7 separate regions of the Homo sapiens genome follow, and regions 2, 3, 4, 5, 6 and 7 are each linked to region 1. The links are contacts of gene promoters, found by promoter capture Hi-C in blood cells and fetal thymus (Javierre and others, 2016). All regions are on one chromosome and are shown on one strand. Each heading gives the region's core, a stretch centred on a gene start or on the middle of the fragment in contact. The rest is flanking DNA. Distances are from core to core; before and after follow the strand shown. Region 1 holds the start of TBCK (TBC1 domain containing kinase). Region 2 overlaps SEC24B (SEC24 homolog B, COPII component). Region 3 holds the start of CASP6 (caspase 6). Region 4 overlaps MCUB (mitochondrial calcium uniporter dominant negative subunit beta). Region 5 overlaps ELOVL6 (ELOVL fatty acid elongase 6). Region 6 has its middle 6.1 kb from the start of SEC24B. Region 7 overlaps GAR1 (GAR1 ribonucleoprotein).

The links. Contacts are between HindIII fragments. The CHiCAGO score rates a contact against its expected background, and 5 or more counts as called.
Region 2: a contact is called between a fragment that was not itself captured here and the fragment with the promoter of TBCK in region 1, in 1 of 17 cell types (naive B cells). The highest score is 6.3, in naive B cells.
Region 3: the fragment with the promoter of CASP6 here is called in contact with the fragment with the promoter of TBCK in region 1 in 2 of 17 cell types (naive CD8 T cells and naive CD4 T cells); the score reaches 6.3 in naive CD8 T cells.
Region 4: a contact is called between a fragment that was not itself captured here and the fragment with the promoter of TBCK in region 1, in 1 of 17 cell types (activated CD4 T cells). The highest score is 5.8, in activated CD4 T cells.
Region 5: a contact is called between a fragment that was not itself captured here and the fragment with the promoter of TBCK in region 1, in 5 of 17 cell types (total CD4 T cells, naive CD8 T cells, fetal thymus and 2 more). The highest score is 11.4, in total CD4 T cells.
Region 6: a fragment that was not itself captured here is called in contact with the fragment with the promoter of TBCK in region 1 in 1 of 17 cell types (total CD8 T cells); the score reaches 5.4 in total CD8 T cells.
Region 7: a fragment that was not itself captured here is called in contact with the fragment with the promoter of TBCK in region 1 in 3 of 17 cell types (total CD8 T cells, total CD4 T cells and naive CD8 T cells); the score reaches 9.5 in total CD8 T cells.

What each region holds. Positions count from the first base shown.
Region 1 is chr4:106,314,657-106,318,103 of GRCh38, reverse strand. TBCK (TBC1 domain containing kinase) reads left to right here and starts at 1,895. Exons shown (of 26, transcript NM_001163435.3): 1 at 1,895-2,173. It overlaps AIMP1 (aminoacyl tRNA synthetase complex interacting multifunctional protein 1), which reads right to left and starts at 1,554. Exons shown (of 7, transcript NM_001142416.2): 1 at 1,510-1,554. RefSeq lists enhancers at 1,346-1,595, 2,086-2,145, 2,226-2,315. The HindIII fragment of the contact is 5,300 bases long and covers 1-3,447 here.
Region 2 is chr4:109,442,930-109,446,208 of GRCh38, reverse strand. All of the region lies in intron 1 of SEC24B (SEC24 homolog B, COPII component), which reads right to left. Among named protein-coding and RNA genes, the nearest start is that of SEC24B-AS1, 11 kb to the right of the region's middle. The HindIII fragment of the contact is 4,493 bases long and covers 1-3,279 here.
Region 3 is chr4:109,702,040-109,705,309 of GRCh38, reverse strand. It overlaps CASP6 (caspase 6), which reads left to right and starts at 1,865. Exons shown (of 7, transcript NM_001226.4): 1 at 1,865-1,954. The coding sequence starts at 1,915. RefSeq lists enhancers at 1,444-1,493, 2,384-2,443, 3,204-3,263 and silencers at 1,654-1,943, 2,094-2,203. The HindIII fragment of the contact is 4,197 bases long and covers 207-3,270 here.
Region 4 is chr4:109,650,007-109,653,432 of GRCh38, reverse strand. The region is part of intron 1 of MCUB (mitochondrial calcium uniporter dominant negative subunit beta); the gene reads right to left. Among named protein-coding and RNA genes, the nearest start is that of CASP6, 52 kb to the left of the region's middle. The HindIII fragment of the contact is 2,758 bases long and covers 425-3,182 here.
Region 5 is chr4:110,192,562-110,195,679 of GRCh38, reverse strand. All of the region lies in intron 1 of ELOVL6 (ELOVL fatty acid elongase 6), which reads left to right. Among named protein-coding and RNA genes, the nearest start is that of ELOVL6, 4.5 kb to the left of the region's middle. The HindIII fragment of the contact is 1,138 bases long and covers 718-1,855 here.
Region 6 is chr4:109,425,980-109,429,371 of GRCh38, reverse strand. No RefSeq gene overlaps it. Among named protein-coding and RNA genes, the nearest start is that of SEC24B, 6.1 kb to the left of the region's middle. The HindIII fragment of the contact is 2,362 bases long and covers 236-2,597 here.
Region 7 is chr4:109,817,079-109,820,246 of GRCh38, reverse strand. It overlaps GAR1 (GAR1 ribonucleoprotein), which reads right to left. Exons shown (of 7, transcript NM_018983.4): 3 at 2,157-2,311; 4 at 1,187-1,246. Among named protein-coding and RNA genes, the nearest start is that of GAR1, 2.9 kb to the right of the region's middle. The HindIII fragment of the contact is 1,478 bases long and covers 906-2,383 here.

The DNA of each region.
Region 1 (3,447 bases), core at 646-3,145:
GGACATAGGGGGTCCTGGAGGGTTTAAAGGATGGCTATAAGGAATGACTATAGGGTGGACAGCTATGAGAGGCCAGTCCATGCATTTCTAAATACCATCGTCATTAACACAAAAACTTTCCTCCCCAGTACAGAGTCCATAAAATTTAAAAAGGAGTATGCCTTGGCCTCCCATGACCCTCTTACCTCACAATAAGGCCATCTTTTACCTGGTTAAGATTTGCAGACTAGACCCATTACATACCTTGTCATTAAATACCTATAATATACCCTAACCTTTGCAATCTTGACAGATGTGATTTCCATTTTATAGACAGATCCAGGAAAATTACATGACTTATCTGAATCCCTTCAAGTACCACATAGCAAAGCCATGATTTTAACTTGTGTTTGCCACTCTGAAACTCACACTGGAATTCATTTTTCAAGTGTCCTCCAAAGCCTAATTAAATAAAATTAACCCTGTCATCTATAATACTCTTACATATCCAAATTAAGTGCATCAAGAATATAACTGGCCATTTCTTACCACCCATAGTCAAACCACCATTATGCTTCCTCTGGATTATTGCAAAACTCTTCTTATTGGTCTCCTTTCTCCTACCACGTCCTCCTCTGTGTATTTTCCTTAAAGAGTGACCCTCTTAAAAGGAAGTCAGAGCCCATCACTCTACTGCTCAAAACGCTCCAAAGTCCTATTTCATTTAGAATAAAAGTTAGATGTCCTCAAGATCTTCATGACCTGCTCGCCTTGATTTAATCTCCAGTGAAGGACTAAACCCTTCACTCAACTCTGCCCTACAGGCCTCCTTGCTATTCTAGCACGTTTCTGCTTCATGACCTCTGCAATGGCTGGTCCCTCTGTCTGACTGCACTTTCCCAAGATATTCGCGTGGTTAAATCTCCCACTTCTGTCAGCCCTTTACTTAAAAGTCATCTTTTCAGCAAGACCTTCCTGTGTCACTTTATACCCTTCTTCCCTGCTTTACGTTTCTCTTCAGGACTATCACGACCTAAAATACAGTATGTTTCTAATTACTTTGCTTAGTATGTGCCTTCCTCTCTAAAATGTGAGCTACAAGTAGACACAGATTTCCGTCTGTTTTGTTCACTGCTGTTCACCTAATGCCTAGAACGGTGTCTGGAATAGAGTGGGCGCTTAATAACTATTCGCTCAATGAATAAATTCCTGTCTTCACCCTCCTCTCCCCCAAAGCACCTAAGTCCTTTGACACACACATTCACATAACAGTAAATACGCTTAGGGATCGATATTTTTCTGTAGCATTCTTAACTTAGGCCTGCATCCCATTTCTCAAACGTGGCTCCTTTAGAAGGAAGTCTCAAACTCTTTCCTGTTTCCTTAGGCCAGGGCTGGTCCTGCTGCGAACGGACTACCCATTAGCAGCGCAGGCCAGGTCCTCTCTCCTGGAGGCAAGTTAGAGAAGGAAGACCCCTACGATCGCAATCGGCGATCCCCGAGTGAGTGACCCGCCACGACGTCACTCACATGAAGCGGAGGACCACGGGTTCCGAGACAGCCACAGCAGGAAGCATGTAGGTCCAGCCACCCGCGTACTATAGCAGTGAGAAAGGACCCAATGAGGTGTCCTTGCTGAAAGCCTGAGTGTTCTACAGATTCAACCCTCAATTCTTTCTTCCTCTTCCTGTGCTCAGTCCCATTAACCTGCCATACCACGCTCCTCGTCTTCCATTCCCTCACCCAGTATTTTCAATCGACCCCCCCCGTCCCCCCGCACCTCTTTCTCTCTCGCTATATGTCCTTTCGTGGCCAGTTTGGGCAAGGGGAAGGACACCACAAGTCGGGGTCTTTCCTCAGCGTTGGGTCGCGGTGGCTGTGAGGGCGGAAGAAAAGGCCAGGCTGAGGGGAGGGTAGAGGGTGAAAAGCTCGGATCTGTGTTTGGGGAAGGCCAGGCTTGCGCTCCTCGCCGGGTTCCGCGAAGGTTAACCTTGGCTGACTTGGCTCGCGAGCAAAGGGCAGCGTCTGAGCTCCCGGCGTTCCAGGAGTGGCCTCTTTTGTAGGAGCACCTGAAATGCAGCGTCTGGTGCACTAAGCCGTAGCGGCAGCAGCAGCCACAGCGACAGCGCTGGGGCCCTGTGTAGAAGCTCCATCCCCCTTGTCTTTGTGCTTGCCTGCGTCCCCAGACTCAGAGGCAGGTATTTGGGTAATCCAGTTTTCCGTGTCGTAGTGGGTGGGGTCTGTGGGAGGTAGAGGACTATCAGGAGCAGTGAGTGGCCCCGCATGTCTTCAGAATAGATAGAGAACCGAGCTGTGGAGCCGCTTGCTGATAGGTACTGTCTCCATCCCTAGCTACAGCCCGCCTTTCCTGTAAATCAGGTTCACCTGAGTCGTTTGGGAACCGTAGGCTTAGTAATCGCTCTGTCACTGCCTCAAAGGAAGGCTAAAGGAGGTTAGAGAATCTAGAATCCGCCCCTCCATTACTCACCTTGGAGGCAGAATTTTGCTTTGGTTTGTTTCTGGCCCTCGAGGTTTAGTCAGTCGTCAAAGTGTAACACCCCCTTGAGCAGTAGGAGAAAGTGAAGCAGAGGAAGGAAGTTACTTGAGGATTGTCAGTGGCTGCTTTTCAAGGATCCCTGTCCTGGTTTCTATCTATTTGAGACAAAAATAACCTCTTGAGAGAATGTATATATAAAATAAATGAATTAGTATCATTTTCCTGTTGAAGAAATGTGAAATTTTATTCATGATAAAATCGGCGTCTTTTGCCCTATTTTTTACTTTCTTTCCCCATTCGAGTCGTTTAAAACTCTAAGTTCTTTGAGGGCACAGAGTCTGACTTGTTCATTATCCTTTGCCCACCAGCTGGAAAAACAACTGACTTAAAATAGGGGCTTCAAAATATTTGTTGAATGAATGAATTTTCAAGCCCAACTGCTTGCACTGCTGTTTCCCTCATCTAATCTCTCATCTCTACGTTTTTTTTCCCCCGGTAGTTTTCTTCCACTCACGAGGTGTAAGTGAATGTATGTGTGTGTATTTTTGTGTGTGAGCCTTTTTATGTACAACCATTTAAGAGGTAGTGGAAAAAGAACACTGATTATGCTAATTAGTGTTTTATCTTTTTCGATCATTGTGTTTTATTTGGTTATTTTATTTTCAGCTATGTGATGATAAAGACATCTGATTGAAAATAAAATGGTCGGGCGCGGTGGCTCACGCCTGTAGTCCTAGCACTTTGGGAGGTCGAGGCGGGTGGATCACCTGAGGTCAGGAGTTCAAGACCAGCCTGGCCAGGATGGTGAAACCCCGTCTCTACTAAAAATACAAAAATTAGCCGGGCGTGGTGGCGGGCGCCTGTAATCCCAGCCACTCTGGAGGCTGAGGCACAGAATCGCTTGAACCCGGGAGGTGGAAGGATGCAGTGAGCCGAGATCATGCCACTGCACTCCAGCCTTGATGACAGAG
Region 2 (3,279 bases), core at 467-2,966, 3.1 Mb before region 1:
CAAGTTCCAGGAAAACCCCATCTCAAGATCCTTAACTTAATCACTGCTGCAAAGGTTTCAGGGATTAGGACATGGACATAGCTGGGGAACCCATTATTCAGCCTACCACATCAGGTATCAATGGCAGATTCTCACACAACTATATTATGATTTCACTTTATGGAAAGCAAGTTTAGAATTCCACTGATTCTAAAATGCACCCCAATTTCAGAGGTAAAAAATGTAAAAAAAAAAAAAAAAAGCATCTTAGAATAAATTAATTTGATTATTGCACTCCCCAAATTGCCCAATACAATGCCTTACATAAGCATCAAATAATCACTGAAAAACTAAAACAGGCTGGGTGCGGTGGCTCACACCTGTGATCCCAGCACTTTGGGAGGCTGAGGCAGGGGGATTGCTTGAGTCCAGGAGTTTGAGACCAGCCCAGGCAACATAGTAAGACTTCATCTCTACAAACATGAAATAAAAAATTACGCAGGTGTGGTGGTTTGTGCCTGTAGTCCCAGTAACTTGGGAGGCTGAGGTGCTAGGCTTGCTTCAGCCCAGGAGATTGAGGCCGCAGTGAGCCAAGATTGCACCACTGCACTCCAGCCTGGGTGACAGAGTGAGACCCTGTCTCAAAAAAATAAATAAAATAAAATAATAAAAATAACAGGCTGGGTGCCGTGGCTCACGCCTGTAATCCCAGCACTTTGGGAGGCTGAGACGGGCGGATCACGAGGTCAGATCGAGACCATCCTGGCTAACACAGTGAAACACCATCTCTACTAAAAATCCAAAAAAAAAAAAAAAAAATTAGCTGGGCGTGGTGGCGGGCGCCTGTTGTCCCAGCTGCTTGGGAGGCTGAGGCAGGAGAATGGTGTGAAGCTGGGAGGCGGAGCTTGCAGTGAGCCGAGATTGCACCACTGCACTCCAGTCTGGGCGACAGAACAAGACTCCGTCTCAAAAAAAAAAAAAAAAAAACAAAGAAAGAAAGAAAAAACTAAAAAAATGGCCAGACGTGCTTGTAATCCCAGCACTTTGGGAGGCTGAGGCAGCAGACTGCTTGAGTCCAGGAGTTCAAGACCAGCCTGGACAACAGAGTGAAACTCCATCTCTACAAAAATTACATAAAATTAGATAGGTGTAGTGGCGCACACCTGTAGTCCCAGCTACTCAAGAGGCTGAGGTGGGAGGATCACCTGACCCCAGGAGATCGAGGTTGCAGTGAGCAGTGATCGCTCCAGCTTGGGTGACAGAGTGAGACCCTGTGTCAAAACAAAAACAAACAAAACAAAAAAATTCAGTTTTTATATAATCTCTGAAAGAATTTTATATTCTTAGCTTCAAGTGAACTATGTCAAATAAAAGAGGGAAACAGATGATTCTGACACATTATCTACTCACTGGTACCAATCTGAATGAAGAAATAAAATATTTTTAACAAATGGTCTATAATATTTTCAATGGAGCTGCTCAGCTGGTCAGCCTGACTGATATATCATGTGCCAGCAAGATACAGCCTATGATTTTCTATAAGCATGTATGCCCTCCTTAGCAGGACTAAATTATCACAAGATCTACCCCCAGGACATATCTGTCTCAGTAGCATAACCTCCTTTCAGACACCAGATTCTCACCAAAGGAAAACTGATTCTCTTGCTTTAAGAAAACCTAACATGAAAATTAAAATTTATAAAACAAATATTTCATGCAAGTCTAGTCCCTGTACCAAAAAAAAAAAAAAAAAAAAATCACAGGATCTCTTTAGGGCATATGAAATACGATTTGGTTTGAAAAATTCTCTACCTGACTTCCCTTTATTCTACTTTCACTTCCCTCTAATTCATTACTAACACCACCAGAGTACTTTTTAACATTCCTTACCACACAATCTTTAATGGCTCTTCTTTGATCCAAATGAAGTCTAAACTTCTTAGGACAATTTCTAGGAACTTCCATTAGCAGCCCCAACATAATTGTAAAAACTATTCTTTTTTTTTTTTTTTTTTGAGATGGAGTTTAGCTCTTGTTGCCCAGGCGATGGCATGATCACGGTTCACTGCAACCTCCACCTCCCGGGTTCCAACAATTCTCCAGCCACAGCCTCCCAAATAGCTGGGATTACATGCACTCGCCACTACACCCAGCTAGTTTTGTATTTTTAGTAGAGATGGGTTTTTACCACGTTGGCCAGGCTGGTCTCGAACTCCTGACCTCAGGTGATCCACCCACCTCAGCCTCCCAAAGTGCTGGGATTACAGGCATGAGCCACCACACCGGGCCCAAACCATTCTTTCATTACTCTCTCTCCCTTGTACCCCTGCACTGCTCAGAGTACGTTTTTTAAATTCCTTACCTTTGATTCATGCATTTTTACCTGACAATTCAAAATGTGTCCATCATTTTAGATATAGCTGAAGTTCTAACTTCCTCCCTTAAGATTCCCTATTACTTTAACCAAAAAGAATTGTTTCCTCTTCAAAACTCTGGGCACCCTTCTCACAGGCCTTATGAAGGAAACACATGTTCAGTGCTGACAGTCCTCTCCTCTTTTACTGAGGGGTACAGAACTCCTGGAGTGCAGAGAACATTCACATTTGTATGCCCAGAGTATCTAGCACAAAATGTTATGTAAAGAGGAGCTACATAAATATTTGCTAGGAATTGTAAATTAAATTTATAGGCCAGGCATGGTGGTTCATGCCTGTAATCCCAGCACTCTGGGAGGCAGAGGTTGGAGGGTCACTTGAGCCTAGGAGTTTGAGACCATCCCAGGCAACACAGTGAGATCTCGTCTCTAAAATAAAAGTTATATATAACTGTTAGGATTACATATGCATTGCATAAAATAAGGTTCAGGTGTTTAAGATCAAAATTGATGGTAAATGAGATAATCGGAGGGACAAAGTTCTTAAAAGAGAGGGAACAGAATTCTGTACCCAAATAATCTGAATTTGTCTCAGATAACACAAGAATAATATGCAGGAAGACTGACAGATTTGGTGGCAGAAGATTAATACTTTATCTTCAGATTGTCAGATTGCTTTCAATTTCTTAGTAAAATAAGTAAGGTCACCATTGGAAAGGGAGGCAGAGAGACAGGATACTGAGAATTTGAGGGAAAAGGGGAGCATGTGACACTGGGAATGGAGCAGGGAAATACCACAGGACTAACTGGTACTGAGAGCTCACTTAAGAGATATTACCATAAATATAAAGTTGGAGAAACTTCAAGGAAAATAAAGCATCAACATTGGATTATTCTAATATTACAATACAGCCATTTTATAGGGA
Region 3 (3,270 bases), core at 616-3,115, 3.4 Mb before region 1:
AGCTCAACAGTGGGCTTTAAATATTCTCTAAGCCATGCTGTAAATAGATGTGCTGTCACTAACTAGCCTTTGTTGGTCCATTTATAGATCATATTTAGCATAATTCTTAAGGGCACTAGGATTTTCAGAATGGTAAAGGAATGTTGGCTTTAAAGTCATCAGTTGTATTAGCCCCTAACAAGAGCATCAGCCTGTTCTTTGAAGCTTTGAAGACAGGCATTGACTTCTCTCTAGCTATGAAAGTCTTAGATGGAATCTTCTTCCAATAGAAGGCCGTTTCATATACATTTAAGATCTGTTGTTTTGGCTGGGCACGGTGGCTCACACCTGTAATCCCAGCACTTTGGGAGACCGAGGCGGGCAGATTGCTCAAGGTCAGGAGTTCAAGACCAGCCTGGCCAAACATGGTGAAACTCTGTCTCTACTAAAAATACAAAATTAACCTGGACATGGTGGCACATCCTGTAATCCCAGTTACTTGGGAGGCTGAGGCAGAAGAATCGTTTGAACCCAGGAGGCAGAGGTTGCAAAAGATCGCACCACTGTACTCCAGCCTTGGTGACAAAGCAAGACTGTCTCAAAAACAAAAGATTGTTGTTTAGTGTAGCTGCCTTTATCAATGATTTTAGCTAGATCTGGATAACCTGATGCAGCTTCTACGTTAGCACCTGCTGCTTCACCTTGCACTTTTATGTCATGAAGATAGTTTCTTTCCTTAAACCTCAGGAACCATCCTCTCTGCTAGCTTCCAGCTTTTCTTTTGCAATTCCCTCACCTCTCTCAGCCTCCATAGAATTGAAGAGTTAGGGCCTTGCTCTGGATTAGGCTTTGGCTTAAGGGAATGTTGTGGCTGTTTTTATCTTCTATCCAGACCAACTAGAACTTTCTCCATATCAGCAATAAGGCTGTTTAGCTTTATTGTCTTTTGTGTGTTTACTGGAGTAGCATTTTTAATTTCCTTCAAAATTTTTTCCTTTGCATTCATGACTTGGCTTTTCTCCTTTGCACTCACAACTTGGCTAACTGGAGCAAGAAGCCTAGCTTTCTGCCTACCAACATTACTTCCTCACTAACTTAATCATGTTTGCTTTTGATTTAAAGTGACAGGCTCTTCCTTTCATTTGGACACTTAGAGGCCTTTGTAGGATTATTAGTTGGCCTAATTTCAAAATTGTGTTTCCAGGAATAGGGAGGCCCCAGGAGGGGGAGAGAGAAGGGAAAGTTCGGTGGAACAGTCCAAACACATACAGGGCTTATGGATTAATTTCCCCTTCCTTTATGAGCGCGGTTCATGGTGCCCCAAAACAATTGCAATAATATTAAAGATTACTGATCACAGATCACAACAGCAGACATAATAACAATGAAAAATTTTGAAATATTGCGAGAGTACCAAAATGTGACACAGAGACACAAAGCGAGCCAATGTTGAAATACAGGCAGTATCTGCTAAGCGGTATAAAACAATCTATGCCTGTACCTCTAGAAAGTACAGGCATAGCAAAGTAAGGAATAGCAAATGTTTGGGGCAGCTGGGATTAAATGAGTCCGAGCTCACACAAGTGATGTGAAATTGCCTCGGGCTAGGCGGTCTGTGTGTCCCCCCGGGTGGCAACTGGCATGTCCCCAGGGCACGGTTAGTCCCAGCGGGCCTGGAGGCGAAGACCGCGTACCTCTCCCTGCCCCCGCGCTCTTGGTCCCCGCGGGCTCCGGAGCGACTGGGAGGAGCTTTAACTCTGGGAAGGACCAGCCCGATCCACGGGAGCCCGGGCGGCGCGCAATCAGAACCAACTGGCCCCACGCTCGGGGGCAGGGGGCGGGGCCGCCGAGGAAGGGCCGAGGGCGGGGCCGGGCCCGGGAGCCTGTGGCTTCAGGAAGAGGAGGGCAAGGTGTCTGGCTGCGCGTTTGGCTGCAATGAGCTCGGCCTCGGGGCTCCGCAGGGGGCACCCGGCAGGTAGGCAGGGGGCGTCGACTGGGCACCGAGCAGGTCTGCGTCTTGCTCCGGCTGGAGGGGAAACGAGGGTTAGTGGACCGGGCGCGCGGACCGGAGTGGGGCCGCGGGTTCCTTCGGCTTTGCAGGGCGGCCTGGAGAAGTTGCACTCTTGGATTGAAGCGCTCAGGGCGGGTGGGGACGGTTTCGCGCTTCAGTCTAAGAAACACTCGGGGACCTGGCTGCCGCCTCCTGGCGGTCCCGAGTAGCGACGCCGGCGCCGGGGCGTGCCCCTGCCGCCTTTGTCCTCCGGGGCGATGAGCGCTTTCGGGGCGCCCCGGCTGTTTAAACCTTAAAAGGCTGTCCCCACGCGGGCCTGGCGTTCCCCCACACCTGGCCGTTTGAAATGTTGGGGGTTGGATCTTTTGTTTGCTCACTTCGAAAAGTGAAAAGGAGGGGTTGTTCCGCCGAGTCATAATGAAAACATAACAGGCCCGCGGGGTGCCCGGGCCAAGACCCTGGGTCCTCCCGGGCTTCAGCTGGAGGCGGCCAGTTCCTGGCGGCCAGCACACCCCGGTATCTCTCTTCTTCATCCAGGAAACCTGCTGCTGTCTGTCGGTTTGAGCCAAAACCACAATAACTTTTTTCTGCAAAGTAATCAACTGCTAAGAGCGTACGTTCTGTCACTTATTACTGGTAAAGTTTAGAAACTTCAAGCCTGGCCAGAGTGAAACAAACAAAAAGGTCGAAACGCCTGCAGTTGGCCGGCCGTGGTGGCTCACGCCTTGTAATCCCAACACTTTGGGAGGCCGAGGCGGGCGGATCACCAGAGGTCGGGAGTTCTCGACCAGCCTAACTAACACGGTGAAACCCCGTCTCTACTAAAAATACAAAAAAATTAGCCAGGCCTGGGCGCAAGCTACTGGGGAGGCTGAGACAAGAGAATCGTTTGAACCCTGGAGGTGGAGGTTGCAGTGAGCCGAGATCGCCCCACTGCACTCCAACCTCGGCGACAGAGTGAGACTTCGAATCAAGAAGAAAAAAAAAAAAAAAGAACGAAACGCCTGCAGTTGGTTAGAGTGCCTTTGTTTAAGAACTCTTTATATTTTGCTGCACAAAGGAAATGGTGCTCCAGAGGCAAGCTGTAAAAGTCACATGGTCGTAGAGGAGGTAGATAGGTAGCCTTGTCCTGGAGGCACAGTGCAGGGTCCAGTTGCAGTCTCTAGGGGCGGGAAGCCGGGGCTTTCCTTCACTCACCTGCTCCCTTCCTCTTCTTCCTCCACCGCACTCCCCAGTGCATGTTCTAGGCCTGATGGAGGTTACTCTACATAGGGTTACTA
Region 4 (3,426 bases), core at 554-3,053, 3.3 Mb before region 1:
TGGTAAAACTATTCTGGAAAACATTTGGCAGTTCTTTCTTTTTTTTTTTTTCTTAAGACGGGGTCTTGCTCTGTCCCCCAGGCTGGAGTGCAGTGGCATGAACTCGGCTCACTGCAACCTCCACTTCCCAGGTTCAAGTGATTCTCCTGCCTCAGCCTCCTGACTAGCTGGGATTACGGGTGCATGCCACCAAGCCTGGCTAATTTTTTGTGTATTTTTAGTAGAGACGGGGTTTCTACCAGGTTGGTCAGGCTGGTCTTGAACTCCTAACCTCGCGATCCGCCCGCCTCAGCCTCCCAAAGTGCTGGGATTACAGGCGTGAGCCACCACACCCAGCCTGACCGTTCTTTATAAAGTTAAATATACATTTATATGTGACCCAGTAATCCCACCCCTAGCTCTTTACCCTAGAGAAATGAAAGCTTATGTTCATACAATTTGTACAAATGCCATTTCATTTCCTCCCACTAGAGTGCATACTCCCCAGGAGCAGGCAGGGACTTGGTCTGGTTCACTGCTGTATCCCCAGCACCTAGAATGGCGCCTGAAACATAATAGGGGCTCAGTAAATACACGTTAAATAAATGCAGGAATGTTTTCAAGATGCTAAGGAAAATAATTACCAACCTAGAATATTATGCTCAGGAAAATTACTTCAGGCTTGCTGTGATTTGATTGTGTCCCCCAGAGTCCATGTGTTGGAAACCTAATGCCCAATGCAACGGTGCTGGGAGGTGGGATCTAATGGGAGGTGCTTAGGTCATGAGGGCTCCACCTTCATAAATGGATTGATGCCAATTATAAAAGGGCCTGAGGCTGCGGGTTTGATTGAGCTTTCTCTCTCCGCCTCTTGCCCTTTCACCTTCTGCCATGGGATAATGCAGCAAGAAGAACCTGACCAGATGCGACCTCTCAATCTTGGATTTTCCAGCCTCCAGAACTGTGAACTAAATACATTTCTGTTCATTATTAATTACCCAGTCTATGGTTCTGTTACAGCAGCACAAAAGAGATTACAGCAAGGCTGAAAGAAATGAGTTTTTCAGGTATAATCAAGATTATGGCTTATTTCCACAGATTTTTGCTAAAGAACTTCTTCAGGAAGAAGAGAACTAAACTCAAGTGGAAGCTGAATAGAACACTATTATGAGCTGAACTGTGCCCCACCCCCTGCAAATTCATATATTGAAGTCTTAACCCCTAGTACCTCAGAATGTGACTGTACTTTAAAGAGGTTAAGTTAAAATGAGGTCATTAGTATAGGCCCTAATCCGACATAACTGGTGTCTTTACAAGAAGTGGTGATTTGGACAGACATGTACACCCAGAAGAAAGACGGTGTGAGGACACAGGGAGAAGACAGCCATTTACAAAACAGCCATGTACAAGCCAAGAAGGCTTCAGAAGAAACCAACTGAGCCAACACCTTGAACTTTAACTTTTGGCCTACAGAAGGGTGGCGAGGAAGGTTTCTAAACAGTGGAGGCGCAATTAGTGTGGGTGTCATAGCCCAAATGGGATGAAGACGGCCTCCACATGGGAAATAGGCTCAGAAAAAAATGTTGGAGCCCAGTTGGGGTAAGAAAGCCATCTCTGCAGGGGAAGGAGTGGTAGTGGAGATGAAAGACTGTCACATGCAGAAGAAAAAAATATATCAAGAATAATGGAAGTCAGATTTATCCTGTGCAAGAATGGAACTACAATTATGGAAAGGGAGTAGAATAAACCCTGTAGTGTTAGACTGAAGTACTGGTGTGAATTCATGGTTTTTAATGTGTAATAATGTAAAGAAATATAATTAAATGAAATTAAATATAAAATTTTTAAAAGATGCAAATGTTTAATGTACGTGTGTATGTAAGTATAGAAATTTTAAATTTTACATATTTATGTTTTCATACTGACATATATATGTATATGTATATTCTCTTTCTGAGAGAGCCTATGAGCAGTGGCACTTCTAATAACATCTAGCATCTAGCTCTTGGCACCAGATACTATGCTTACCTAAGAGGAAGCAAGCCTCCTTGGAGAAATGGCTATTCTAGGGCTGGGCATGGATAAGGACAAAATGAACCTAGAGCATCTTGCTGTACTAGAAAGCAAGGAAGTGCTCAATGGATGATGGAAGACTTATCAAAAGAACCCAGAAGGCAGGTCAAAGGGTGTCCCTGTGGTAAAATCTGGAACAATTTTTAGCATTAAATAATGATAGTAACAAATTATAATCCACTGAAGGAGATAGGAAACCATGAGTGTATTCTGACATAATTAACTGAATAAATTTAAAGTTTAATAAGGAATGAGATATTTACACAGTTTTAAAATGCCTTCACACAAAAGCATTAATCCCAAAGGAAAAATAATAACTTCAAAGGGAAGAAGCCTGACAGATACCATCTTAATTGATCAAAATTAATATTATCAGTAATGGGGTGAGTTGAAATCATGCAATGAGAATACATGGGACACTTTTGAGATATTCCCGACAAAGATGCTATATAATCTGAAGCAAATCACAAGGAAATACCAGACAAACCCAAACAGAGGCATTCTACAAAATAATTGTAATCTTTAAAAGAGTCAAATCATGAATGTCAAAGAATGTTGTACTGATCCAGAGTGGAGGAGACATGACAACTAAATTAAACTGTGATTCTGAACTTCTGCCAATAAAGAACATTATTGGAAAAATTGGCAAGATTTTAATGAGGTCTAAAAATTAGATGGTGGTTATGTACTAACATTAATTTTCCTATTTTGATGGTTGTTTGTCATTAAGTTGGAGAATGTTCTTATGTTTCAGGGGAACTGGCATCAAGTTTGCAATGTATTCTCAAATAGTTCAGAAACAAAATAGTCTTCCCACTGTGGTTACAACTTTCTTTATGTTATGTTTGAGACTGTTTCAAAATCACACAATTCTGAGAGACTGGTAGGCCAGGGTAAAAAAAATTAATAATTCAAAAACAATAGGTTTACAACACCAAAATTACCATATACAAAGATAAGTGATTAATAACAAGGGGTCAAATATTAAACCTTTTTTGCATGCCAGTAGGAAACTATGGTTACTTGGGAAATTGAAAATAAAAAATTTTTTAAAGCAAAGACACTCCTGTACAAGTTTTTATTTAGAAACCCCAAGAATATTGACAATCCTCAGACATGTTAGTAAAGCTTAAAAGAGAAACTACCATACCCTGTAACAACCCTTTTTAGAGGGTTATTATTAAAATTCTGAAAATCTTACACAAACCCATCATGCATGCAGAGCTGAATTTCAAGAATGACTCACCAAAACTCAGGTCTTCCTTTTAGTTTACACCTCACCTCAAACCCATCTTGAGGAGCCTACCATTCCCCCCTTGATAGGGGGATATGATAGTTTTGAATAAACAAATGGTATGAACCAAATCTGTTGCT
Region 5 (3,118 bases), core at 37-2,536, 3.9 Mb before region 1:
GATTTTTCCCTTCCTGGCTTCTGCTCTCTGTTGATGTTATGTTCTTAGATTGCTTATTGCAGTCAAAGAACCCTGCTGGCTGTTACCCCTCCCTTGCAACTCTTCCTGACCCTAATTGTCTTACTTTCATGTTTTTTTTTAAATGCCAGATTTTGTGCATTTCTCCCAATATCCCAGGGTGCCCAATTTTATCTCTCCTCCCTCCCCAAAAACTGTACAGCCAAAAAGACTTTAAACACTTTTTAAAATTTAATTTTATTAGCCGGGTGTGGTGGCTCCTGCCTGTAATCCCAGCACTTTGGGAGGCTGAGGTGGGTGGATTACCTGACGACAGGAGTTCGAGACCAGCCAGGCCAATATGGTGAAACCCCATCTCTACTAAAAATACAAAAAAATTAGCCGAGCGTGGTGGCGGGTGCCTGTAATCCCAGCTACTCGGGAGGTTGAGGCAGGAGAATTGCTTGAACCCGGGAGGTTCAAATTAAAGCTTTTAGTTTTTATTTTTAATAGAATCCAGCTAATGCAGGACAAAAAGTCTTGAACCAGATTTTCTTTTCACTCCCTTTTTAATAGGAGAAGGGAACTCCATAACCAAGGCTTAGACCCTCTTGAGGAGAGAGGAACTTGAGGAAACCATAAAATCTTACCTTTTTCAGACTCATTAACTTAAAATGGTTTGAAATAGCTTCTGGAGGAAAAACATGATATAGTGAAGCTTCTACTCTGTCTTTTGGGAATTTATGGTTGTCCTTATAAATCTCTTCTTAGTAACAGGCAAAACTTGTTAATTTAGAGAATTAAAACATCCTCTCTCAAAAGTGAACTACATTGGCTTTTGAAGAACTGTGAGAATGGCCAGGAGTAGTATTTTGCCAGTATGCTGCCTTTGCTAACTAGCATCATTTAAGAGGACCTAAAATAAGAATACTTTATTAAACATACGCTATAATCCATACTTACTAACCATAGCGCAAATTAATGTTAACATACCCTATAATCCATACTTACTAACCATAGCACGTGTTAATGGAATGGGGCCCGACTTTTGGAGTAGCATTTGTATAAACCCTAAAGGGTTCAACTGAGGCTAGTTTTCAAGTTTATTGCTGCTTTAATGAATCATTAACCTCATACTCATTGGCCTAGCCATGAAAGTAAATACTGCAGACTTTTTTTACTTTGCTAGCAAAAAGTTTCATATATAATAGGTTAGAATAGCAATTGAAATGCAAAGTAATAAGTGTATTCCCTTGTAGAATCATCCTGGGCCTCATCTTGAAACTACATGTCCAGTGAAAAATATCCTGTCTGGTTATATTATCTGGTCAATGAGAGTTTATTACATGAGGTAGAGAAAAATGTCTGCTCATAGGTCCAAATAGGAGTTTTGAATTCTAATTTTCACTGAAAAGTCCTTGCAATTTTACAACATTGAAAATAGAGACATTTTGCTCTTTTATGAGATGTCTGGCCTTTACCTGTTTTTCTCACTAAGAGCTGACTTAAGTTGGAAGTGCTGCTAGCCAGGGAGCAAAATCACCTGGTGATTGCTAAGGCGACATATAATTCATTGAGTGAGAAGGGAAGCTGGGCTCTCTCTGCCTTCTCTTTCAGCAGCCTGCCAGGTTTGTGCTAACAGCAGTGGATGCTAGTTGCTCCAGTTGTAATTGTCTAGCCAATGATGATTATCTTCTGATGTCGGCTGACACGGTGCCCACCAATAGGAAAGCAGGAGGCCTGTGCTGACTGCTGTAACATTATGTATGTGAGGTGACGTCTTCAAAGGGCTTGCCTAGAACTTCATGAAACCCTCCCCCTCTCCTGGCATTCTCCACACATCCAGCCTTTCAAAGCTTTATATATTTTTCTGACTTTTCTCCCCACTCACTCCCTTGGTGGTGTAAAAGGGTTTACTTGTTTTAACATTTTGTATTCTGTATTATAGAGTCTATAAGATAGTATAGGAATTTTAAGAATTAAATGCTGTTCAGCTGAGGAAGCCTTTTTATTCACAAATTTGTTTTTACCAAAGGTAAAAATGGAGTGAAACATTTTATTTTATTTTGTTTTATTTTTGAGACAGGGTCTCACTCTGTTGCCCAGGCTGGAGTGCAGTGGCACAATCTTGGCTCACTGCAACCTCTGCCTCCGGGTTCCAGTGATTCTTATGTCTCAACCTCCCAAGCAGCTGGGATTACAGGTGCCTGCCATGACACCAAGCTAATTTTTGTATTTTTAGTAGAGATGGGAATTCACCGTGTTGGTCAGGTTGGTCTTGAACTCCTGACCTCAAGTAATCCGCCCACCTCGGCCTCCGAAAGTGCTGAGATAACAGGCTTGAGCCACTGCAACCGGCCGTGAAACATTTTAAAAGGAGTTGTACATCTATATCTTTTTTGTAGGTGAAGTTTGGAAAGTAACACGATGTACAATTTCATGATTAAAGAACATAAAAAGCACTAAAAACCTGTGTTAGCATTTAACTCAAATATAGCAGCATAAAAAATATAGCAGCATAATGTTAATGAAACTGTTCAAATGCAGACATAGTATTTGGCTGTTGTTTTTCATTTAGTGAGGATTGCTTTGAATTGCTTCCTGAAGTCTTCCTTGCAACCTTCTACATTCATTTGTAAGAAAAATGGCTGGAAAACAGTGCATCTGTGACTATGGAACAGAGTAGGCCAGAGTTTCATTTCATCATTAACATTGCAGCAACAAATTTGGTCAGCTCTGTAGGAATATAGTGTGTCTATATTGTACTCATGTCACTTGCTGTTTATTTTGAGGTATCACAGTTCATATTGATTTAGGATTAAAACTTGTGTGAGGATCATAACATGACATTCAATAATTTTTAGAAAGCACTGGGATGTAGGCATATGTACTAGGTTAAGAGTGAGAAGAATGAGAAAATACATAGAGAAAAAACGTGTAATCTGTGTGGGGTCCTAGAAAATAATGTAAAGTTGTGCTGGAGCTTTGATATGAACTTTCATGTATCTTTTAATAAATTATAAATATTCATGCAATTCTTGTTTAGGATTCCAAAGGATGAAAGCCAGCTTAATGCAAAATATTTTATGATTATATTATCCATCTGTGTATTTGTACTAGT
Region 6 (3,392 bases), core at 167-2,666, 3.1 Mb before region 1:
AGATTTGGTCCTCAATTGCAAAGAAAAATTAAATTATGTTCTGTACTCTGTTTCAGAAGACCAGAGGAATACAGAACCCATTTTGGAACTTTAGAAACTCTTACATATGAACAGGTTAGGTTCCAAAATTTCCATTGTTCGTAAGTCCCAATACTCACAAGTTCGGAGTAAGCCACATATGCATTTCCAGAAAACAGAAAAGTGAGGCAGTCCTTTGAAACTTTAGAACAAAGCTTACTCTTCTTTTTACTGATATAAGTTGTATAGTGGTGCAACCCAGACTAAGGCGCATATGAATCTCTTGATGATCACGTTAAAATGAAGATGCTTATTGGGTAGGGTTAGAATGACCTGAGAATCTGCATTTCTAGCAAGCTCCCAGGTGATGCTGATGCTGATGCTGCTGATCCATGGACCACACTTTGAGTAGCAAGGTTCCAAAGGGCATTTTTTGTTGGATTTACATTTGAAGTCCCTTAAGGAAGGAAATGCCCCTCCTTAATGAGCCTAAAGGAACTTCTTAGCAGCTGGCGTATATTCACACCTGCTACCACTCATGTTGATGTTGTACAGATTAAAATGTGCCTAGCGCTCTTGCTTTCCATAACTTTACTTTCTTAGGCCTTTAAGATACTTGAACCATCTCCTAATGGGTTAATGGGTGCCCAGAGTTGACACTGATCCTCTCATCACATGGTCAACAGTGTGTACATTTTGTCAATTACTTTTCTTCTTACTGATTATTGTTATATAAAAATGGTGAATTAGTCTGCTTTGGCCACCATAACAAAATACCTTAAACGAGGTGGCTTAAACAACAGAAATGTGTTTTCCCACAATTCTGGAAGCTGGAAGTCTGAGATGAGAGTGCCAGCATGATCAGGTTCTGGTAAAGGTTCTCCTCCTGGCTTGTAGATGGCCACCTTCTCACTGGTCCATACATGGCAGGCAGAGATGGGGAGAGAGAAAGTTGTCTGGTGTCTCGGTATAAGGGCACCAGTTCTATTGGACAAGGCTCTGCCTTTACGACTGCATTTAACCTTAATCACCTCCTTAAAGGCCCTCTCTTCAATATAGTTACATGTGGGGTTAGGGCTTCAACATATGGATTTTGGAGGTACAGAATTCAGTCCATAGCAAATGGCATTTTCATATGGCATGAGTCACTCTTTGCTTTTCAGAATTGTTCCCAATTTCAACTGGGTCATACCACTTTATTGTATATTTATTACTATGAATTTTCATTTTTCAATCTCTGCTTTTTTAATCTTCACATCACTCTTACTACCACCTTCAAAATTCTCACTGCTTTCTCACTGACATCAATGTTGGGATTAATATTTATAAAGCACATTTTAAAACATAAACTCATAATAGGCCCCAAATTAATAAAAAGATGACCTACATCAGGGCACCACTACACCAGGGCACACTGAATGAGTGCAATTCATTAAAAGATGTATTAAGATATTAATCCTCTTCAGACATTGGGACAACTAGGGGGTACTCAAGTGATCCTCAGGCTAGTCTCCTTTGGCTGCAAGCATCCTTGTCTTTTACCCAACAAAAATATCCTTATTTTCTAGCTATGTTATAACATGAAGAGGCTGGGAAGCACTGCCCTAGACTAAAATTACTAAATTACTGTGCACAATCTTCAGTGCCATCTGCTGGAAGGAGACAAAGTTACTATACTATGGTTCTAGAAGGTAGATTTATGTATTCGTTCATTCATTTGAGACAGGGTCTCACTCTGTTGCCCAGGCTAGAATGCAGTGGTGCAATTACAGCTCACTGCAGCCTTGACCTCCTAGGCTCAAGTGACCCTCCTGCATTAGCCTCCCAAGCAGCTGGGATTACAGGAGTGCACCACCACACCGGGCTAATTTTTTAAAATTTTTAGTAGAGGTGAAGTCTTGCTGTGTTGCCCAGGTTGGTCTCTCAAGTAATCCTCCAGCCTTGGCCTCCCAAAGTGCTGGGATTACAGGTGTGAGCCACCATGCCCAGCCTAGATTTATTTTTATGTATAAAACTAAGTTAAAAGATCATACGAAGGGGTATTTCTGTGTTACAAAGGATTGGTTTTAAAACTTTTTTTACTAGTTGAAAGGATAAACTTCAATTACCTGAAAAATGTAAAACACAACTGTTTCTTTAAAAGAGAAAAAGCTAGACAAAAAATGTTGTTGGGGCAGACACAGTGGCTCACACCTGTAATCCCAACAGTTTTGGAGGCCAAGGTGGGAGGATCACTTAAGCCCAGGAATTTGAGACCAACCTGGGCAACAGAGTGAGACCTTGTCTGTACAAAAAGTTAAAAAATTAGCCAGGTGTGGTGGCGTGTGCCTGTGGTCCTAGCTACTCAGGAGGCTGAGGCAGGAGGACCACTTGGGCCTAGGAGGTCAAGCCTGCAGTGAGCCATAATTGTGCCACTTACACACTCCAGCCTGGGCAGCAGAGTGAGACTCTGTCTCAAAAATAAATAAATAAATAAATAAAATTGTTGAACATACTAATTCAGTTAGAAAGGACACACTTTTAAAAAAGAATATTGATAAGTCAGAGCACCACTATGATGGCAGGGTGTTTACAAAGCTTGTGGTACACCATATACAAAAATCAACTCAAAATGGACTAAAGACTTAAAAACCTGAAACTATAAAACTAATAGGAGAAAACATAGGGAGAGATCGTGCCACTGCACTCTAGCACAGCGACAGAGTGAGAGTCTGTCTCAAAAAAATGAAAAAATTAAAAGATTTTTCCGTATAACAACTTTCTTCTTCACTAACGAAAAGTAGAAATCTAGTATAGTCCTGTAGACAGTTTCTATGTAATAGATTAAAACAAGTTAAAACAGGAATTTCTCCCATAAGATTCTCTCCTTCTAAATACAACAGAGTAGAAGGGGCAGGTGTGGTGGCTCATGCCTATAATCCCAGGACTTTGGGAGGCCAAAGCAGGAGGATCGTTTGAGACGGGAGTTTGAGATCAGCCTGGGTGCATAGAGATACCCTATCTCTACAAAATAATTAGAAATTAGCCCGGCATGGTGACACAGCCTTGTAGTCCTAGCTGCTCAGGAAGCTGAGGTGGGAGGATTGCTTGAGCCCAGGTGGTTGAGGCTGCAATGAGTCAGATATATATATCTGGCTTTATATATACACCTTTGTTTTATATGTATATTATATACTTTATTATATATACATAAAACAAAGTAGAGAATGTTAGTCCCCGGAATTTCTCTGTAAGAAAATGTCTCATGCAAAAATCATTCAGGAGGAGAAAAATATACTTTGTAGGGGATGCTACATGCTTCTTGCCAAGAAGAGAGAGAGAAATGGGAGGCCATTAGCTGTCTTCTATGTATGGTTGGTGGGCAGGGGTACAAG
Region 7 (3,168 bases), core at 395-2,894, 3.5 Mb before region 1:
TGATTTTTTTACTTCTTCAATTTCAATAGCTAGTCAATTACCAAGTCCTATTGATTCTACTTCCTGTATCTTTCATAAATCCATTTTTTCCATTTCCACTGTCACTACCGAGTCCAAAATACCATCTCTTTTAGAACTACTATTATAGCCTCCTATCTGGCCCCTCTCACACAATATTGACCGCTTCCCAAGGTGCCTTTTTATCTTCCCAGTATTCTTTTGAAGCATTCATTTAACTGTGTTATCCCATTATTCAAAAATAAAACACAATTGAAACTAAGGTCTAAACTCTTTCCTGTCACCTGAAGGCTTAAGTTAATCAAGCCCCCTCCTACCTCTCTGGTCTTAATTCACAACTTTCCCCACCTCTCCTAAATGTTTCATTCCTAACCTATATGTCTGCCTTTTTGTATCCTTTCAGTTGCCTGCTCTCAGAGACTGCACATACTGTTTTCTCTACTTGGAATGCACTTTCCTCTTCCTCTTTGACTAGCTCAGCAGCTCTCAAGTGTTTGACTAACTACATCAAAATTATCCAAGTGCTTTTCCTTTTTAAAATTGAATCCTGGACGCTACTTAAGAGCTCCTAGGTCAAATTTCCAGAAGTGGAAACTAGAGATACATCTTCTTAAAAGCTCCCCAAGATAACTCTGACATGCAACCAGGTGTGGAAATCACTGTTAGTCAACAATCAGGCCTCAGCTTCAAGCTCACTTTTTCAGGAAACACTACAGACTTAAAAAGCTGGTGGCACTACAAAGCTTCTCATGGCAACCTGTATTTTTCCTTCATAGCATATATCATGTTATTGAAGTTCTTGTGAAATCACTTAGTACCTACCGCCTCTCAAATAACGTAAGTTTTACAAATTAAGATTCTACCTAGAATGTTTGGTCATGAAAGCTTTTCAATAAGAGAGTTTTACATAAACAAAAAACTCTTACTCTAGCAGTTTACAGATTTTGGTAATATGAGCAAAAGTTGTAATTTTTACTTTCTAAAGGCTGTATCAAATAAATCACTTTTAAAGATTAGTGTGTTCAATATTTATAGCATGGAACATTTCAATTTAAGAGCTTTACTAGTGATATGTTGGGAAAGTCTCAAGTGCTCCAAGTAGGACTTTCCTAAGATAGGTCGTTCCCTTATAAAACCAAGGATCCCAAGTATCATAAGTTTGACTCACCTTCTGTAGTTTTTTAAAGGATGAAGCCTTCATGTTTTCTGACAACTTAACTGAAAAATACTATTATTTTCATTAAGGAACAAATGAGCAATTAAGATGAAAGATGATATCAAATGTTCTGAATTCATGTATAATTTCAAAAACAAGGTTAGAATGTATGGATATATATAGGAAAGATAAGAAATGAATTTCCAGGGGCTGGGCGTGGTGGCTCACACCTGCAAACCCAGCACTTCGGGGGGCCAAGGCGGATGGATCACTTGAGGCCAGGAGTTTGAGACCATCCTGGCCAACATGGTGAAACCCCACCTCCACCAAAAATACAAAAATCAGCCGGGCATGGTGGCGCTCACCTGTAATCTCAGCTACTTGAAAGGCTGAGGCACGAGAATTGCTCGAACCCAGGAGGCGGAGGTTGTAGTGAGATGAGATCGTGCCACTGCACTCCACCCTGGGCAACAGAGTGAGTCTCTGTCAAAAAAAAAAAAAAAAAGGAAAAAAGAAAGGAAGGAAGGGAGGAAGGGAGGGAGGGAAGAAGGCAGGGAAAGAGCAAGAGAGAGAAAGAAAGAGAGAGAGAAAGAGAGAGAAAGAAAGAAAGAGAGAAAGAGAAAAAGAGAGAGAGAGAAAGGAAGGAAGGAGTTTCCAGAGTAGTGGGGGCACCAAACAACTTCTAATTCTACATTTCCAGTGGCACCACTACATCCAAATCAGCCAACTTAATCCTGTAGTACTTATCCAAATGGCCATCATTAATAGAATTTTCCAAAAAAAAAGTCACCGTTCTAGGGTCTGTCATTTTAATATCTATGGATGAATACATTCTCCCCTTGATTCTCCTTCATGGTCCAATCTGTAGCAATCCTGTCTAATTTAATGAAGCAACAACTTTAATTTATACTTAACTGCCTCCTCAGAAAAATGCAAATAGCAACCTTTGAATATTATCAGGCCTTCCAATGAAAAAGGATACAAAATCTCTGAGTTGTCCAAATATTTCATCCACTTTTCCAATTTGTTCTTTGTTTTCTAAGTAAACAGGAGCATTGAAATAAGGCACCTTATTTTCATCTGTGGTACATTTACAAACTATGTCATCTTCACAGGGATGCAGGAACTCTCCTAATACTGAAACAGGACAAGAAAATGTTAAAACATAGAACTATTTCAAACGATACTGACCAACTGCTTCTGGAAGCTTTCTTTTTGGCTACCTGGGACTTCACCATAACTGCTCTCCTCTGAGGCAGAAGACCACAGTCTTAGGACTTCCTGGGCTGGTATACCAACTCCACAACACACTAGCTATTTGACCTAGGAGAAGTTACCCACCCTCTCTCTAATTCAGTGTCTCATTTTTAGTATGCACTAATAACATATAATGTATAGCTATACCTAATATACAGTAATGTAAGCACTCAATGGAATAACAAATGTCAAGTGCTTAGAACAGTGCCTGGCACACTGACACCATTCAACCTGTAACAGTTATGTTATTACAACTTATTATCTGATTCAAAACTCTGCTTCATTCTCTTGGTTCTCCCTTTTCTTCAATGCCTAACAGAATCAGCCTTCATTCTTTTTTTTTTTCTCTTGCCTTAGAACTTTTCCATTCCCACTACCACCTCTTTAACAATGATTCATTGTTTTCAAGGACATCTGGAATCTCAAAATAACTACCTTTATTTCTAACTAGACTGTCACCCCAAACTAAAATACCACATTCCTGCAAAACCAAGTCTTCATTCCTATCACCCAAGCTCAAAACCTGGAACCCTTTATTATCAGCATTAGCTAAGTTCTACCGATTTTGTTTCCTTTGAAATCTCTCTCCTATCTAACCCTTCCTTTTTTTTCCTCACTGTCACCATCCTGATTCAGGCTCTCAAGGTCTCATGTATGGACTGGTACAACAGCTTGTGGGCTGGGACCTTTTATTCTAGAAACTGCTCCTTTCAAACCATCCTGCATACTCATCCAAG